Linked DNA regions of Homo sapiens: all the other regions are linked to region 1. Evidence: promoter capture Hi-C in 16 types of primary human blood cells and fetal thymus (Javierre and others, 2016). All regions are on one chromosome and are shown on one strand. Each heading gives the region's core, a stretch centred on a gene start or on the middle of the fragment in contact. The rest is flanking DNA. Distances are from core to core; before and after follow the strand shown.

What was found. Contacts are between HindIII fragments. The CHiCAGO score rates a contact against its expected background, and 5 or more counts as called.
Region 2: a fragment that was not itself captured here is called in contact with the fragment with the promoter of SMPD1 in region 1 in 1 of 17 cell types (M0 macrophages); the score reaches 5.9 in M0 macrophages.
Region 3: a contact is called between a fragment that was not itself captured here and the fragment with the promoter of SMPD1 in region 1, in 1 of 17 cell types (total CD4 T cells). The highest score is 5.1, in total CD4 T cells.

What each region holds. Positions count from the first base shown.
Region 1 is chr11:6,386,852-6,391,723 of GRCh38, forward strand. It overlaps SMPD1 (sphingomyelin phosphodiesterase 1), which reads left to right and starts at 3,623. Exons shown (of 6, transcript NM_000543.5): 1 at 3,623-4,065; 2 at 4,533-4,872. The coding sequence starts at 3,748. It overlaps LOC124902624 (a long non-coding RNA gene), which reads right to left and starts at 3,505. Exons shown (of 2, transcript XR_007062573.1): 1 at 3,256-3,505. RefSeq lists a silencer at 3,340-3,839. The HindIII fragment of the contact is 7,977 bases long and covers 2,574-4,872 here.
Region 2 is chr11:7,576,574-7,581,445 of GRCh38, forward strand. All of the region lies in intron 3 of PPFIBP2 (PPFIB scaffold protein 2), which reads left to right. It overlaps LOC105376535 (a long non-coding RNA gene), which reads right to left. Exons shown (of 4, transcript XR_007062579.1): 3 at 4,687-4,836. Among named protein-coding and RNA genes, the nearest start is that of PPFIBP2, 65 kb to the left of the region's middle. RefSeq lists a silencer at 1,365-1,599 and an enhancer at 1,670-1,749. The HindIII fragment of the contact is 1,428 bases long and covers 1,537-2,964 here.
Region 3 is chr11:7,525,474-7,530,345 of GRCh38, forward strand. The region is part of intron 1 of PPFIBP2 (PPFIB scaffold protein 2); the gene reads left to right. All of the region lies in intron 1 of LOC124902806 (leucine-rich repeat extensin-like protein 5), which reads right to left. Among named protein-coding and RNA genes, the nearest start is that of PPFIBP2, 14 kb to the left of the region's middle. RefSeq lists an enhancer at 3,418-3,467. The HindIII fragment of the contact is 1,741 bases long and covers 1,272-3,012 here.

The DNA of each region.
Region 1 (4,872 bases), core at 2,373-4,872:
AGATCTGTGTTATTAGAGATTCTTTACAGATGTAAATTTTCCCCCATAAGGTACGACTTTGCAGGGCCATTTCAAAATATGGCAAAGTGGCCGGGTGCGGTGGCTTACTCCTGTAATCCCAGTACTTTGGGAGGCCAAGGCAGGCGGATCACCTGAGGTCAGAAGTTCGAGACCAGCCTGGCCAGCATGGCAAAACCCCATCTTTATTAACAATACAAAAATTAGCTGGGCATGGTGGTGGTGGGTGCCTGTAATCCCAGCTACTCGGGAGGCTGAGGCAGGAGAATCCCTTGAATCTGGGTGGGGGAGGTTGCAGTAAGCCAAGATCACCCCATTGCACTCCAGCCCGGGCAATAAGAGTGAAACTCTGTCCCGCCCCCCACCCCAAACCAAAAAACATATATATATATATATATATATATATATATATATATATATATATGGCAAAGAAACATGTTTTGGGGTAAAATATTTTGACTTTCTTCTTTATCACGTAATTTTATGCCAGAGTATGACTGAAAAGGCAGTCACAATATATAGTGTTAAATAAAACCCAACTGATAAGAATTTATGGTTTGTAGGGCATGACTCCCCAGACCCTTTCGATAGGAATTTGAGCAAGATAAGAAAAAATCAGAGCTTAGTCCTCATTAGGAACTGCCTCTTCTTCTCCTTTAAAAACCCACTTGTGACTTCTGCTAATTGGGAGCATATACTCAGGGCAACTTGAATCTTCGCTTCACAGTCTTCAAACTTGGCCCAAATAAACTCTCTACTTATATCAAGTTTGCCTTAGATTTTTCCCTTTAGGTTGACATTTCCCAGAAGTTTTAATCAGATGAAGAAAGCTCCCAGAAGGTTTATTTCTGCATCTATTGAATCTGAAATGTCTTCGGCTTAAAATAATTGTTATACCAACTCTGGTGTTCTGAATGGGTCCCCACACAGCAAAGAATAGAGCCAGAATGTTGCATTTGTGAAAGGAAAATAAAAACTCAGGACTCCAGTTGACTATGCCAAAAGGAAAAAAAATAAACTGAAAACTGAGTCATGCAAGAAGCTGCCTTTCCTTTTGTTCCTAAGCAGATAGCTACAGACAAAAGGTTAAATATTTACAAAATTAGCCGGGTGTGGTGGCACATGCCTGTAATCCCAGCTACTCAGTAGGCTGAGGCAGGAGAATCACTTGAACCCGGGAGGCAGAGGTTGTGGTGAGCCGAGATTGCGCCATTGCACTCCAGCCTGGTCAACAACAGCGAAAACTCTGTCTCAAAAAAAAAAAAACAAAAAAAACACAAAAGGTTAAATATCTCCACAGGCATATTTACTTTATCTTATGTAAAGTGCCAGACGAACACATAATTGAGTATCTCCCTACCTGCTCCTTTTCTCTTGCGACATGTGGATTACCATACCCTTCTTCTTTCCCTCCAGCTCACTTTTCCCCTTTAAATATTGAAGCCCTCAAAATCATCTTTGGAGAAAGCCACAGACCACAGACTGTTTCTGCGATTCCGTGTTTATTTCTTCCAGCCATGTCCTTAACCTTGGCAAAATAAACCTCTAAATTGATTGAGACCTGTCTCAGACATGTTTTGCTTGACACATCCAAATTCCAGTTCCAGCACTTACTAGCTAGCTGTGGGATCTTGAGCCACTTACTTAATCCTACTTTCCTTCTCCGTAAAATGGGGATAATTATAATACCGACTTCCAAATTTGTTGTGAGGATTAACGTAAGGCAGAGTCCTCAGAAAAGTACCTACAGAGGGTTATTCGGGCCAAGGGCCAAGGTTGAGGACTGCGACCCAGGACACACTTGCAAGTTGTCTTGGGGGAGCACTCTGGACAACAAAAGAGAGGCTCATATTTTCAAAGAAAAAAAGATGAATTAGGAGAGGAAATGAATACAAAAGTTGTTCATCAGGAATTCTCATTGTTTACAGAAATAACACTGGTTATACATTGTTTAGCGCTTGGCTATACATTGTTGAACTATAAGGTGTATGGCATTTAATGGCTACTTGGCATAGCAAGTGGTTTCAAGAGATAATTACTTAGCTCAAAGAAGAGTGAGAGTGACTGTTGCTACATTTTAAATGCCTGTCTGGGCCTGATAATTTAAAGGGGCTCATCTTCCTTAGATAAAAAGGTTTTGTTTTGTTTTGTTTTTCATAGTACATAATCTTAAAAATGCATGCTAATTATTACTGTGAGTACTCTATCTGAGATGATGTCCCCAGAACTGGGGGGAAAAAACACTTGTAAAAAATTATCAAAGGAAAGAACTGACAGGACTTGATAGCTCTGAGGATTCCTCAGAAGCACTCGTCAAACAGCTTAGGGTTTAATTGCTATTCTGCCACTTAACTTCTTTGTGCCTCATCCTATCTGTAAAGGAGGGTAATAATAGTATTTGCAGGGACCAAGGGAAACTTTCCCTTCGCCCTCTGAAATTCTGCTGAAAAATCAACCCACAAAAAACAGATTAATTGAAGAAAAGGCATAGAAATTGTATTAATGTGTCCACGGGGAACCACAGAGTGACTACCCACTTCCCAGACGAGTTCAGAAGCTTAGGTGTCATTCAGGCAAAGGGGGTTGTGGGAGTGAGGGGAAGAGGAATTCTGCTGAGGGAGAAGGAATGGATCAGGGAACAGATTAACTAGCACATTATCATGTGAAGGGGTCTGTTCAGGTGTGATTATATTCTTGGTTTTGTAGGGAGGGGAAGAAAAAAACCGTTGTTCCTTTTGATGGGTCTGGACGCTAGGTAACGGCTTTGGGAGAGAGGGCGCGGGAGTAGGAAGGCCAGACACACCTTAAGGCTTAACTTAGTAAGTCAAACCACCATATTTTGGGTATGGATTTCTGAGCCCCAATATAATAGGTACTTCTTAGGGTTGTTGTGAGAATTGAAGATTATTAATTATAAAGTGCCTGGGTTGGTGCTTGGCACATCATAAACAACTCCATAAATGCTCGCTTTTACTGTCGTGGATACACGGAGGTGGGAGACCCAATTGGGTTCCCGCCCATGTTATTGGCCCCCACGGCTATATGGTCTTTACGGCTTCCTAGTCTCTTCACCATCTCTAAGGTTTGTTTCCTCATCTGAATCACAGGTGAGTGATTCTCAGGGTGACTCAAGAGGGCTGGTGCCAGTGGCAGAGCATGGGGAATCGAGGGAAGGCGCCTTCCTGTCAGAGGCAACACACCCAGTGGGAGGATCCTGCCCGCCCTGCTCTCTCCTACCTCCCCTTCCCGGGCTAAACGCTGGGGTCGGTCTGGCAGCTATTCCGGGAATCTGAGCGCGGATTCTGACAAAGGAGACGTCTTCCACCGACCACATCACATGGAGCTCCAAAGCACGAGCACGGCCTCCCGCGGCTGTGACCTCAAGGCGGAGCCCCTGGTGACCTCAGGGAGAGTCCCCACCCCCGCAGCCCGTGCGCCCGGGGCAGGGCGGGGGCAGGGAGAGGGGGCGGAATCGGGGCGGTCCCGGGAGCGCCCCGCCCCCTCCGCCTCCGCAGCGTTGACAGCCGCCCGCCACCGAGAGATCAGCTGTCAGAGATCAGAGGAAGAGGAAGGGGCGGAGCTGCTTTGCGGCCGGCCGCGGAGCAGTCAGCCGACTACAGAGAAGGGTAATCGGGTGTCCCCGGCGCCGCCCGGGGCCCTGAGGGCTGGCTAGGGTCCAGGCCGGGGGGGACGGGACAGACGAACCAGCCCCGTGTAGGAAGCGCGACAATGCCCCGCTACGGAGCGTCACTCCGCCAGAGCTGCCCCAGGTCCGGCCGGGAGCAGGGACAAGACGGGACCGCCGGAGCCCCCGGACTCCTTTGGATGGGCCTGGTGCTGGCGCTGGCGCTGGCGCTGGCGCTGGCGCTGGCTCTGTCTGACTCTCGGGTTCTCTGGGCTCCGGCAGAGGCTCACCCTCTTTCTCCCCAAGGCCATCCTGCCAGGTTACATCGCATAGTGCCCCGGCTCCGAGATGTCTTTGGGTGGGGGAACCTCACCTGCCCAATCTGCAAAGGTCTATTCACCGCCATCAACCTCGGGCTGAAGGTGAGCACTGAAGGGGCTGCAGTGGAGGAGGCCGAAAGGAGTGCTGGGGCTGGGGGCTGGGGCTGATGCTGGTGCGCTGGGCTCAGAATGCATCCCTGATGGAGAGGGTGGCATCTACAATCCATCACTGAGTTTGCTCCCCTTTGGGGACACCCATGGCTACATGCCACCATCACCCCATTGTGACCTTTGTGAAGTAAGAAAATAATGCAGACAGTGCCTGAGGAAGTCAGCTTGCCAAGCAAAGGCCTCATGCCACAGGCCGCTGAGCTAAAGAAGAAGCGATGGCCTGGTGCTGCCTGAGTTACAGGGCAATATCTGGAAGGCAAAGGTGTGCACTGAGCTTGGTGCACTGAGTCCTGCCCAGCCCCAGTTTGGAAATGGAGGCCCAAGGGGTGGTGGCCAGGGGTTGGCCTGGTTCCTCTGCTCTGCCTCTGATTTCTCACCATGCGCTCCTCCCACTGCAGAAGGAACCCAATGTGGCTCGCGTGGGCTCCGTGGCCATCAAGCTGTGCAATCTGCTGAAGATAGCACCACCTGCCGTGTGCCAATCCATTGTCCACCTCTTTGAGGATGACATGGTGGAGGTGTGGAGACGCTCAGTGCTGAGCCCATCTGAGGCCTGTGGCCTGCTCCTGGGCTCCACCTGTGGGCACTGGGACATTTTCTCATCTTGGAACATCTCTTTGCCTACTGTGCCGAAGCCGCCCCCCAAACCCCCTAGCCCCCCAGCCCCAGGTGCCCCTGTCAGCCGCATCCTCTTCCTCACTGACCTGCACTGGGATCATGACTACCTGGAGGGCACGG
Region 2 (4,872 bases), core at 1,001-3,500, 1.2 Mb after region 1:
GGAAATGCACGTGAAGCAGCCTCAACCTTTCCACCTCCTTGGTTTGTAAAGCAGGTAGCCCAGAGTGGGGGACAGCCAGAGAGGCAGGACCCTCCAGCCCTGGCCCCTGTTCAGAATGTGGCCCCCAGGGTGCCCTGGCTGGTGGCCAACAGTCCAGGGCCAGACTCCCCTGAGTTTGCGGCAGTTGGTCTCTAATGGATGGTACCACCAGTGCCAAGGACAGCAAACGCTCTGTGCTGGGCCCGTCGCACAGCAGGACCAAGAACCCAGACTGGAGCTGCTTTTTTTTGGAAACAACAGGCTTTCCTCAGGGCACAGCCCGTCACTCGCCTGGAAAATGGGTGGGCGTGGGCTTCAGGGCGGGGGTCAGGCTGTGTGTGGGAACCAGTGAGCTCCTCCAAGAGCAGCACTTATTTTTAGTCTTCTCCCCAGTCCCAAATAAACTGAGAGCAGCTGGGAGCCCTGGGTAAATGCAGAGTGAAGCAGAGACAGGAAATCGGGGCTCTCAGTAATGAGTTCCAGCCACTCCAGAAGGGGGAAGCCAGACAAGGAATTTTCTTCAGGACTGTTTCCCTCTGGCAGGCTCCGGTATTATCACTGAGAATGGTCCCGTGTGTGTGTGCGTGTGTGTCATGTTTACAACTTCTGTCCAAGTCTTCTTTCTTTTTTCTCTACCTTTGTGTGACATTTGATTTCTCCGCAGGGCTCTGAATCCCAGTCCTGGTGCGTGTGCGTGCATGTATGTGCGTGTGTGTGTGTGTGTGTGTGTGTGTGTGTGTTTGTTGGGGTGGTCGGGGAGGACACTGAAGCAGCACGGTCTGCTCTGTGTCGCTGTGTGTCTGAAACTGTCTAGGGAGAGGCTGAAGGACGCAGGCCAGGGAAGTGGGGAAATTTGAACACAGCTTGGAGTTCTTGAGGGGGGAGGGGGCAGAGGCAAGGAAGAGGAGAGAACTGGTCTCCAGCCAGGAAAAGGGCTTTTTCCACCAAGGCATCTAACTGCTGACATGGGTGCCCAGCATGGATGGGGACATTGATGTTTACAAGCATTTCTCGTGGCTGAAGAGGGTAAGTGACTGGCTGCTTTGTCTGGGTCTCCGTGGAGATAAGTGAGGGGGAGACGCTTTGGGGTGTTTTGGGGTGTGTGTGCCTGTGTGTGGTAGGGGGAGGTATTGTCCAGCAAAGCCCTGCTGTGGCCAAGTTCTTCATGAGAATCTAATTATAGACACCAGGGAGAAAACAGTCAGCTGTCTTTGTTTCTCCACTGACATTCTAGTGAATGAGCCTCTGTACAGAAAGGCAAGAATGGAGTGAGGAAAGTTGGTTATTTTAACTTTGGCACCTAAACAGTCAGAGGCTCCAAACACCGTGACCAGAAGAATGTGCCCACCGCTTTTCAGTTTGAGGACACAGGGAGGAAGCTGCTGCCTTTTTAAATGCATTGGATTCGGAAGTTGTTTAACTCGTTCTCACTCTGATGTTATCCGGTGGAGCACACATCTGCTGTCAGCAGAATGAGCTTCTGCATTTCCGGAGGAAAGCTTTCAGGGAGTTCTCTTTGAATGCTCTGAAGCTGAGGGTTTATGTTGCAAGTTGTTCATGCCCTTTCTTTAGAGGATAAACCTGAGTGTGTGGTATGAGCAAGGAATGAACGGACGTTGGGGGCTGGAGTAGCATCATACTCCTAGAATTCAGGCTGTTTCCTCTTTTGTGGCTGCCTTTAAATTGGCTAAGATAGGTATGAATTTATTTTCACACGAAGGGATTTTAGGCTGAGTGTTTTTCAGAGGCAGGAAGGGCAAAAGCAGCTGACAGGTTAGAGATTTGACATTGTAACTGCAGAAGGACAGAAGAACCAGGAAGTGTCCAGCTTGGAAGGGGCATGCAGATGCCCGGACCCCGACTCCCGGACACTGAGCTGGCTGGCTTTTGTGTGAGTGCAGCAGCACTCATTCAGCAAATCTGTACTGAGTTTGGGTACTGGGTGTATAGTAGTGAGCAAAATAGAACCAGCCTCTTGTGGATCTTCTACCTAATACTGGAGATGTAGGTGAAACAGTCCCAGGAAATAAACCTCAGATTACAAACAATAAGTGTGCCTGGAGGAAGAACAGAAGACACGGGACTGCTGTTTTGATGGAGAAGGGGGTTGGGGCGGTCAGGGAGTTTGAGGAAATTATACTTCGCTGAAAACTGAAAGAGCAGTAAGAATGAGTCAGGTGAAGAATGGGGTGAAGAACATTCCAGGCAAATGGGGCATAGGGGATGATGTATATACAAAGGTCCTAAAGCAAGATGGAGTCTGCTGATTGTCCAGATTGAGAGAGAGCCCATGTGGCTGAGCACAGTGATGGCAGACAGAGGCGGGCAGAGGCTGGGATCACGCAGGACAGTGAAGGCCACGGTAAGGCTTTTGGGCAACCTGGTTTGTGTGCTGGGGGACTTGTAGCAGGGAAGTGACATGGGATACATTGGGGGGGGTCTAGTTTGTATTTTAAGAAAATTACTCTAGCTGTGATGTGGTATATGGTAAGCTATGTTGGGAAAAGTGAGGCAACTGAACACAATTATAGGGCTGGAGGGCTTGGAGGGATGGGATAGTACAAACCCCTCATTTAACAAAGCCCAAGAGGGGCTAAGAACCTCATGGTATTAGTGTCATAGCTATTAGTGGTGCAGCCTGGTCTTGAACCCTGTTCTCTATCTCCCAGTCTAGTTCTCTTTATTCATTTTCTCTGCCAAATATGTATAAAATTATTGCTTTAGAACCCAGCAGAAATCCTGTCTGTGCCCAGCCCCTAGGGCATCACAGTCACCAGAAAGCATGCTGAGATGACCAGACGTTTTGGCAAAGGTTTGCATCATCTTAGGTTTTTTTTTTAAGCCCCACTGGGGAGATACTGAAAGGAAATATGTAAGAAATGCACTGACCATCACTTGGTCCTTCTTTCCCTGTATCCCAAATGAAGCTTTTAATCAAGAAATCCTTTCAGCCAACATGTGCCTGGGATTGTCAGAGCCTTGTCCCAGCCCCTGGGGCAGATACTGTAACTCTGCCTGCTACAGGAGAAGTTATGTGTGTGGAGGAACTAATTTTGCATGTGATGCAATGTAAGAAGGCCCTTCTTGTCCCAAGACCCAGGGTATGCTGGCTCCTGTGGACAGTTGGAAGTTTGCTTAGGGAAACTTTAAGCAAGGAGACTTTAGAAACCCCCAGGATGACTCATAGCAAAACAGATATTTTTCTTCTACTTTTAGAATTTTAAAGAGCATTTTACAAAAGCAAAACTCAAAGTGTAGACATGTCATTGGCAGTGTGATAAGAGTATTTTCACTATTCTCTACCCTAAACACTACTGCCAGATTTTTAAAATCTTCTTAAAAAAAAAAACAAAAAAAACAAATTCCCTTTCGTCCTGTGACCCCAGTGATGAGCCCCCCTGGACTCACCCTTAATCTGGAAGAAAAATCAGGCCCTTCGGCTTGCTTGGCCTTTGAGACCATTAGCAGCCCAACCTCAACTTACCTTTTTAGTTTTATCTTTTATATCTACCCTGATGAGCTCCCAAGTGTATTTCTTCCCTTTTCTGAGCTTTTACCACAGATGACCACCTCCTCTCTAACTCTCATCCACTTCAACTGACTCCATCCAGGCTGTCTTTTCCCAGGAAACCTCTGCTGGCCCTCCCTCCCCACCTCCTGTAGCCCAGGTCTGCAGCACTTCCCATCTGCATGGCTCACCCACCCTTTCTCCTGTGCTTCAGCTGAGGTGGTGTGGAGAGCTGGTTTCTCTGAACTCATGCTTTTGAAGGTAGAAACACTATCGTCTTCATTCTCCTTTACAGAGGGCATAGATTCTGGAAGAAGAGGTTCCTGGTGCCAGAGCAGGAGCCCTTGCCCTTTGAGCAGTCCAAGGTGGTGGTGTCTCAGGGCAAAGGGGAGATACTTATGTTCAGAGAGGCATGGAGCTGGAGGGGAAATATTTGCTCAGAAAAGAAATCTTGCTCCAGGGCCTGTGTGGGATGGGATAGTATATACTATTAATATTACAGTTAAGAACATGGAGTCTGGAGTGAGGCCTGAATTAGAATCCTGGCATTGCCACGTTTACCAGCTGTGTGATCCAAGGTAAATTATCTCAAAAGTCTGGATTTCTTTAACTATAAAATAAGGGAGATAATAGTACCTACCACATACAGGCTTTATGAGGACTCAGTAAGATAGTACGATTAGTGCAGTATCATGCATGTAGGAAATACTCAATAACATGCTTGCTATTAACTGCTATTGGTGATTATCAGGAAGGGAGAAGTTGAAAGAGGAACAGATGGAACCAGGTTCTCTCCTAGAATTGCCTCTCAGGCCATTCAGTGCTTCAGCTTTATGACCCTTCCCATACTCCAGATCAAGGTCTCAAACCAAGCATATTGAAGACCTAGAAAAGGCAGCTGCAACCTGGGCCACCATAGGTGACCAGAGGCCTCATTGGCTGCTGGATCTGGCCAGCTTGGCTGTGGTTGCTGAGTGAAGGCTGATCAGGGCTGATGCTCTAGTTCATTCTCCTAACAGACAAAGCCTAGGGATAAGGTAGTCTCTTGCCACAAGTATCCAGAGGGACTCAGTCACAAACAGCTCACACCTGTTCTACATTGAGTCCAGTGGATCCAACCCACACAACCATGAACACACCTCTAAAAATAGCTCCGAGCAGGGTCTGTGGGACCCACCCACTGCTCTTTCGGCAAGAGTTCATTTTCCCAGGAACAGAAATCCCAGACTGTCAGCATCTTCACACTGCTTCCTGGCTTCCAGCACTCTCAGTGCTTAAGCAAATTCCAACTGTAGGTCACAAAGAAAATGGAATCACTACAGGTC
Region 3 (4,872 bases), core at 892-3,391, 1.1 Mb after region 1:
GGGAAGTTGCATGCTCTGGGCTTCCAGGTATGACACAGAAAGGGCAACCATGGTGGCGGTGAGCAGAAATTCCAGGAGGCAGAAGTCCATGACAAGGTAGAGAACAGCCCGGAATCAGGTGGCTGGTCACCCACGTACAGGACAAAAGCAGCAAACAGCGCAGAGTCCAAACCAGCTGGATGAGATGTGGCAGGGTTAAGTGCAAAGTCCTGCCCTTAGGCCCTGAAAATCAATTGTGTGAGTGTCCTACCCATCTATGTGGAAAAGCCCAATACATTGGCTTAGCCTGGCTACATTAATTGAAGTCCTGGGTTTAGACCTTGGTAGAGGATCTTTTCCCTGCATTGGCTGAGACTGGCCACACCTGGAGTGTGCAAAGCCGGTATCCCTGTCTTACAAGCTTTGGAGGGGCCCAAGGACAGTCAGGAAGATATAGGGGAATGACTGCTATTTTCAGGTGGGCAAGGTGGGCAGCATGTTCTTTGTTGCTCAGAGGGCAGAGATGAAGGCCTATGGTAGTGATGTCAAAGAAAACTAAAGACGGAGCAGATTCTACTTTGACATAATGTAAGAAATTTTAAAGAACTCAGGCTTGTCTCTAGGGCCAAACCGCTGTTTTAGAGCAGATATTGGAGTCTACCTGCAAAGGGTATTGTTCAAGCAGTATTGACTAGAGAGGAGTTTATGAAATAACAGGGAGGAAGGTATACTGAAAGGTTATAGATCTAACTAAAGTGCTGTAAGATTTTGGCAAAGGGAAGGCTTTGTGGATCAACCAACTGGGGTGGGATCCTGGGGAGCTGGGAAGAAAAGGCTCTCTGGGGATCCCTGGTCAGTCAAGTGAGTAAAAGGCATAGAAGCCCAAGTGAGTGAAGTGGGATCGAGAAATAATAAGGAAACCAGCTTAGCTAGACTCTTCCCATTATTAAAAGTCAAAGAAAGAAGTTGGGACTCTAAGGGAAAAGGAACTTGAATGCCAAACTAAGAAGCTGGACTTTACCCTGTCGGTAGTGGGGAATAATTGGTGGCTTCTGAGCAGAAATGACTTGCAGCAGATGTAGGCTGGAGTGAGGGTGGGAGGCTGGGGAAAGAGCAGCCTTAAAGCTGTGCAGAAGCGGCCGGGTGCGGTGGCTCACGCCTGTAATCCCAGCACTTTGGGAGGCCGAGGGTGGGCAGATCACGAGGTCAGGAGATTGAGACCATCCTGGCTAACACGGTGAAACCCCATCTCTACTAAAATACAAAAAATTAGCCCGGCGTGACTATGCGGAAGCTTCTCTATCCCAAGTCGCAGGCTGAACATCCCACTTAGTGACAAGGGCTGGGAGAGGGGAAAGGCTCTGAGCAAATGTCTTTGTGGGCTGAAAATGAGACTATGATCCCAAGAAGTGACTGGACTGTGTATATTCTTTGCTGATGCCTACCTTGGCCCAACCATCTGAAAGCTGTTTTAGACTCACTTGCCACCCCTTGAAGATTTTGAGAACACACCATCCTGAGACCTGGAGAACCAGGGTATGTGGTGTGAGACAGCTGGGTTCACAGCATCCTAGAGGGCATAGCAGGTATAGAAGGGAGTGATCCAGGAGGACACTGGTCACAAGAATGTCCTCCTGGATCACTCCCTTCTATACCTACCATACCCTAGGAAGTCTGACTGTCTGCACCTTGGGCCATAGAGTGAGCAAGGTTCCATCCCTGGGAGGGGAGGCAAGGAAGGGATGTGGGTACCAGGGCCTCATTCAAGTAGGCTGAGGTTTTGGGTGGGGTGTGGTGTATGGGAGGAGAGAGTTGCTGTGGTTAGGCAACGTGGATGTCTGAGCAGTGTGATATCTTGGTCTGGGTGGCAGGGAAGGAGTCTGGCAAGAATGGTAGGAAGAGTGGCCATGGAACCCCAAGGTCAGAACTGGCCCATTGGATCTGGGGAAACCTACCCTTTAGCAGCAGAGGTAGAGCATACTTCTCAGGTACTGTGGAATCAGTAGGATTGTGACAGTATTTATTATTTCAGCCTCTAAATAATTTTTGAACCATTGTCTATGCTGAGAATGGTGATGATGGGACCACAAGATGAACAGACATGTCCCCTGACTGAATGGAACTTAAGAAATGTACCCCCTTACTCAAACAGATAGTAGTAACTGCTGAGAAAATACAGTTAATATTCAGAGAAAGATGTTGGGGGGGCCTGGCTTGCTGAGGAGGTGGCATTTGAGGTGTGTCCTGAAGGAAAGACAGGGACCAGAGTTGCCCGTTTCTATGGGGCTGAAGGGAATTGCTGGCAGAGGGAACAGCAGTGCACAAAGGAAGGCATGAGTAATGCCAATTAAGGGGCACCTGTGGAAAACAACTGGCGGCATGATTTGGCTGGAACTGAAGAGTAAACGAAGTTAAATAGGGCACCAGGGATTGGAAATTACCGTCTATGAAGTACCCATCATGCATCAGGCATTGAGCACAGAGTCTGTGCTCACTTAAATTTCAAAGCAGCCTTTCAGGGCTTTAACTGAGGAGGAAATGGGCTTCAAGAAGATACCTGATCATCTCAAGTTTCCCTAGGTGGTGAGTGGCCAAAATAAAATTGATGTCCAGGCTGCCTGACCCCAAACTCTGTTCTTTCCACTTAATCTTGCCACTATGTTTAGAGTCCAGATTATGCAGTCTTAAATTTACAGTGAAGACCTGTTCTTACCGTATTTAGGCAGGAAGATGGTCAGATGGCACATGGCAAACCACATTAACCTTTGAGAGGCACTTAGTGGACATGGCCAGATAGTCACAAAGCATATCTGAGTTCTAATACATATATATGCATGCATACACATATATATTTAGGAAGTTAATCTCTAACTTCCTAAATGCAGTTTTCACATTACAATAGAAACTGTTACTCCCAGACCACTATAGGCAATTTCTGAATTGCTGGCTGAATTCCAGTATTTTCTCATCCCTTCAATAAAGTATATTAGAATGGGGCAAGATAAGCCTGAATCTTCTCTAATTTATACAAAAAGCTTCTATCATTAGTAACAAGTTACCTACAACCAACCTTACCTGTTTAGGATACCAAGGTGTCAGCCCTAAGAGATGTTTAGCAAGAGTGGTACTCCAAGAGGTTTGGAAGCGTGGGATGAGGGTAAGAGTCAGAGAAATGTGGGCAGTAACCCAGGTGGGGCTGTAGGGGTTGAGAGGAGGGACCGATACAGTTCAGTAAGCATTTGCTGAGAGCCTGCCCATGCAGGGGTGTAGAGTGGGTGCTGGGATACCTGCATGAAAGGACAACATTGTTTTCACAGATCACATGTTCAAGCTCTGAGCAGGTGGGTGTTGGTGAGGACTGCCTGCTCAAGTTGGGGTTCTTATGCGTATATCTAGTACAGTCAGCCAGTCTTTGTTGCTGAGCAGGTCTGCCCAGGGCCCAGTTCTCCATCCAGTTTGGCCTTCCTCCTGGAGCTCAGAACTCAGATCTAGCCCTGGTGGCCACGCCTTGCTTCTGTCCTCAGGGTGGACCCAGGGTCCTTCAGACTTCCTAATGGGAGGCTTTTCCTCAGCCTGGAGAGAAAAGTTGAGACCACCTGCGAGGCAATAGTAACCACTGAGAAGACAGAGGAAATATTCAGAGGAAGAAGTTGGGGGAGCATCTGGGCTGCAGTGACGCAGGATTTCATGTTAACAGGAGACAATGTGGGAGGAAGCTCTACCTCCTTGTCCTACCACTTAATAAGGTACACTGTGAGAACCCGTTAAAGGCTCTTCCAGGGTCACAAATCCAGTCCTCAAATGTTATGATTTATATTTAAAAGAGAATTTTAGATAAGCCAAGTGACAGCTGAATGGGAAATGGAGTTAATGAGACAGATCTTATCGGCTCCATGAAAAATGCATCTCATTACATCACTGTTACACATCGTATATGGAAACCTTCCCTCAGTAATTCCTGGAGTGATTGCCTGTCTGGCTATCGGTGTCCCCAAAGAGTGTGGTGTCCACTGAGAATAACCGGGAGGCCTTTCTCAGATACCAGTACGGCTCAGCCATCTTCTCTCAAGGCCATCTCTAGAGTTATTATGGGCTCTCTTGATGCCAGTGCATGGAGCCAGGGACTGCTGCACCGAGGACAAAGCCAGCCAGCCATGAACGTGGTCAAGACTTGGCCCTTCCCCTCCCTAACCCTACAGAGCCCAGTTCAGCTTTAGCCTCCATGTTTGAGGCCTCCCAAAATCCATTTCCCCAGCGGTGTCTTCTCTGTCAGGTACCTGCCCCTGGGATGGCCCCTGAGCCTCATAACTCGGCCTGTTCACTGTTCCTAAGCAGGTCACCTTGTGACCCTCGTGGAATGGCTGAGGAAGGAACCGAGGGGCTGTAAGAGTGGCCGTGTGATCCCTAGGAAACCTTCAGCTCTGGAAGGCCCTGTGGCCCTAACCTTGCCCTGTTTTGTCAGGTACTGCTAGAGAGACGCAGAAAACCTGGAGCATGTGTGCTGTTTGAGCTGCTGTATCCCAGGGTCTGCCACTTTGGGGGCTACCTGCAAGAGATTTGGCAACTTCTCAAAGGAACTCAACATCATGGTTGTTGTTTTTTTAACCCTGATCCCAACATTTAGGCCCTGATGAAGGGTCTTGGCCAAATCCATCTTCTGGAATAGTACAGTTGGGAACATGTTCTCTGATGTGGAGAGGCAGAGTGTTACATACTTACTGGGCCAGGCACTGAGGTGGGTAGTTTATTCTGTCCTCTTTCTTAACCCTCTGACTAACCCTGTGTAAGGCAGATATTATATCCATTACATAGTAACCTGAGAGGTTAATGTCCATATTACCCAAGGCAAAAAACGAATCCAGCTCATAAGTAGTGGAGCAAGGATTTAAGCCC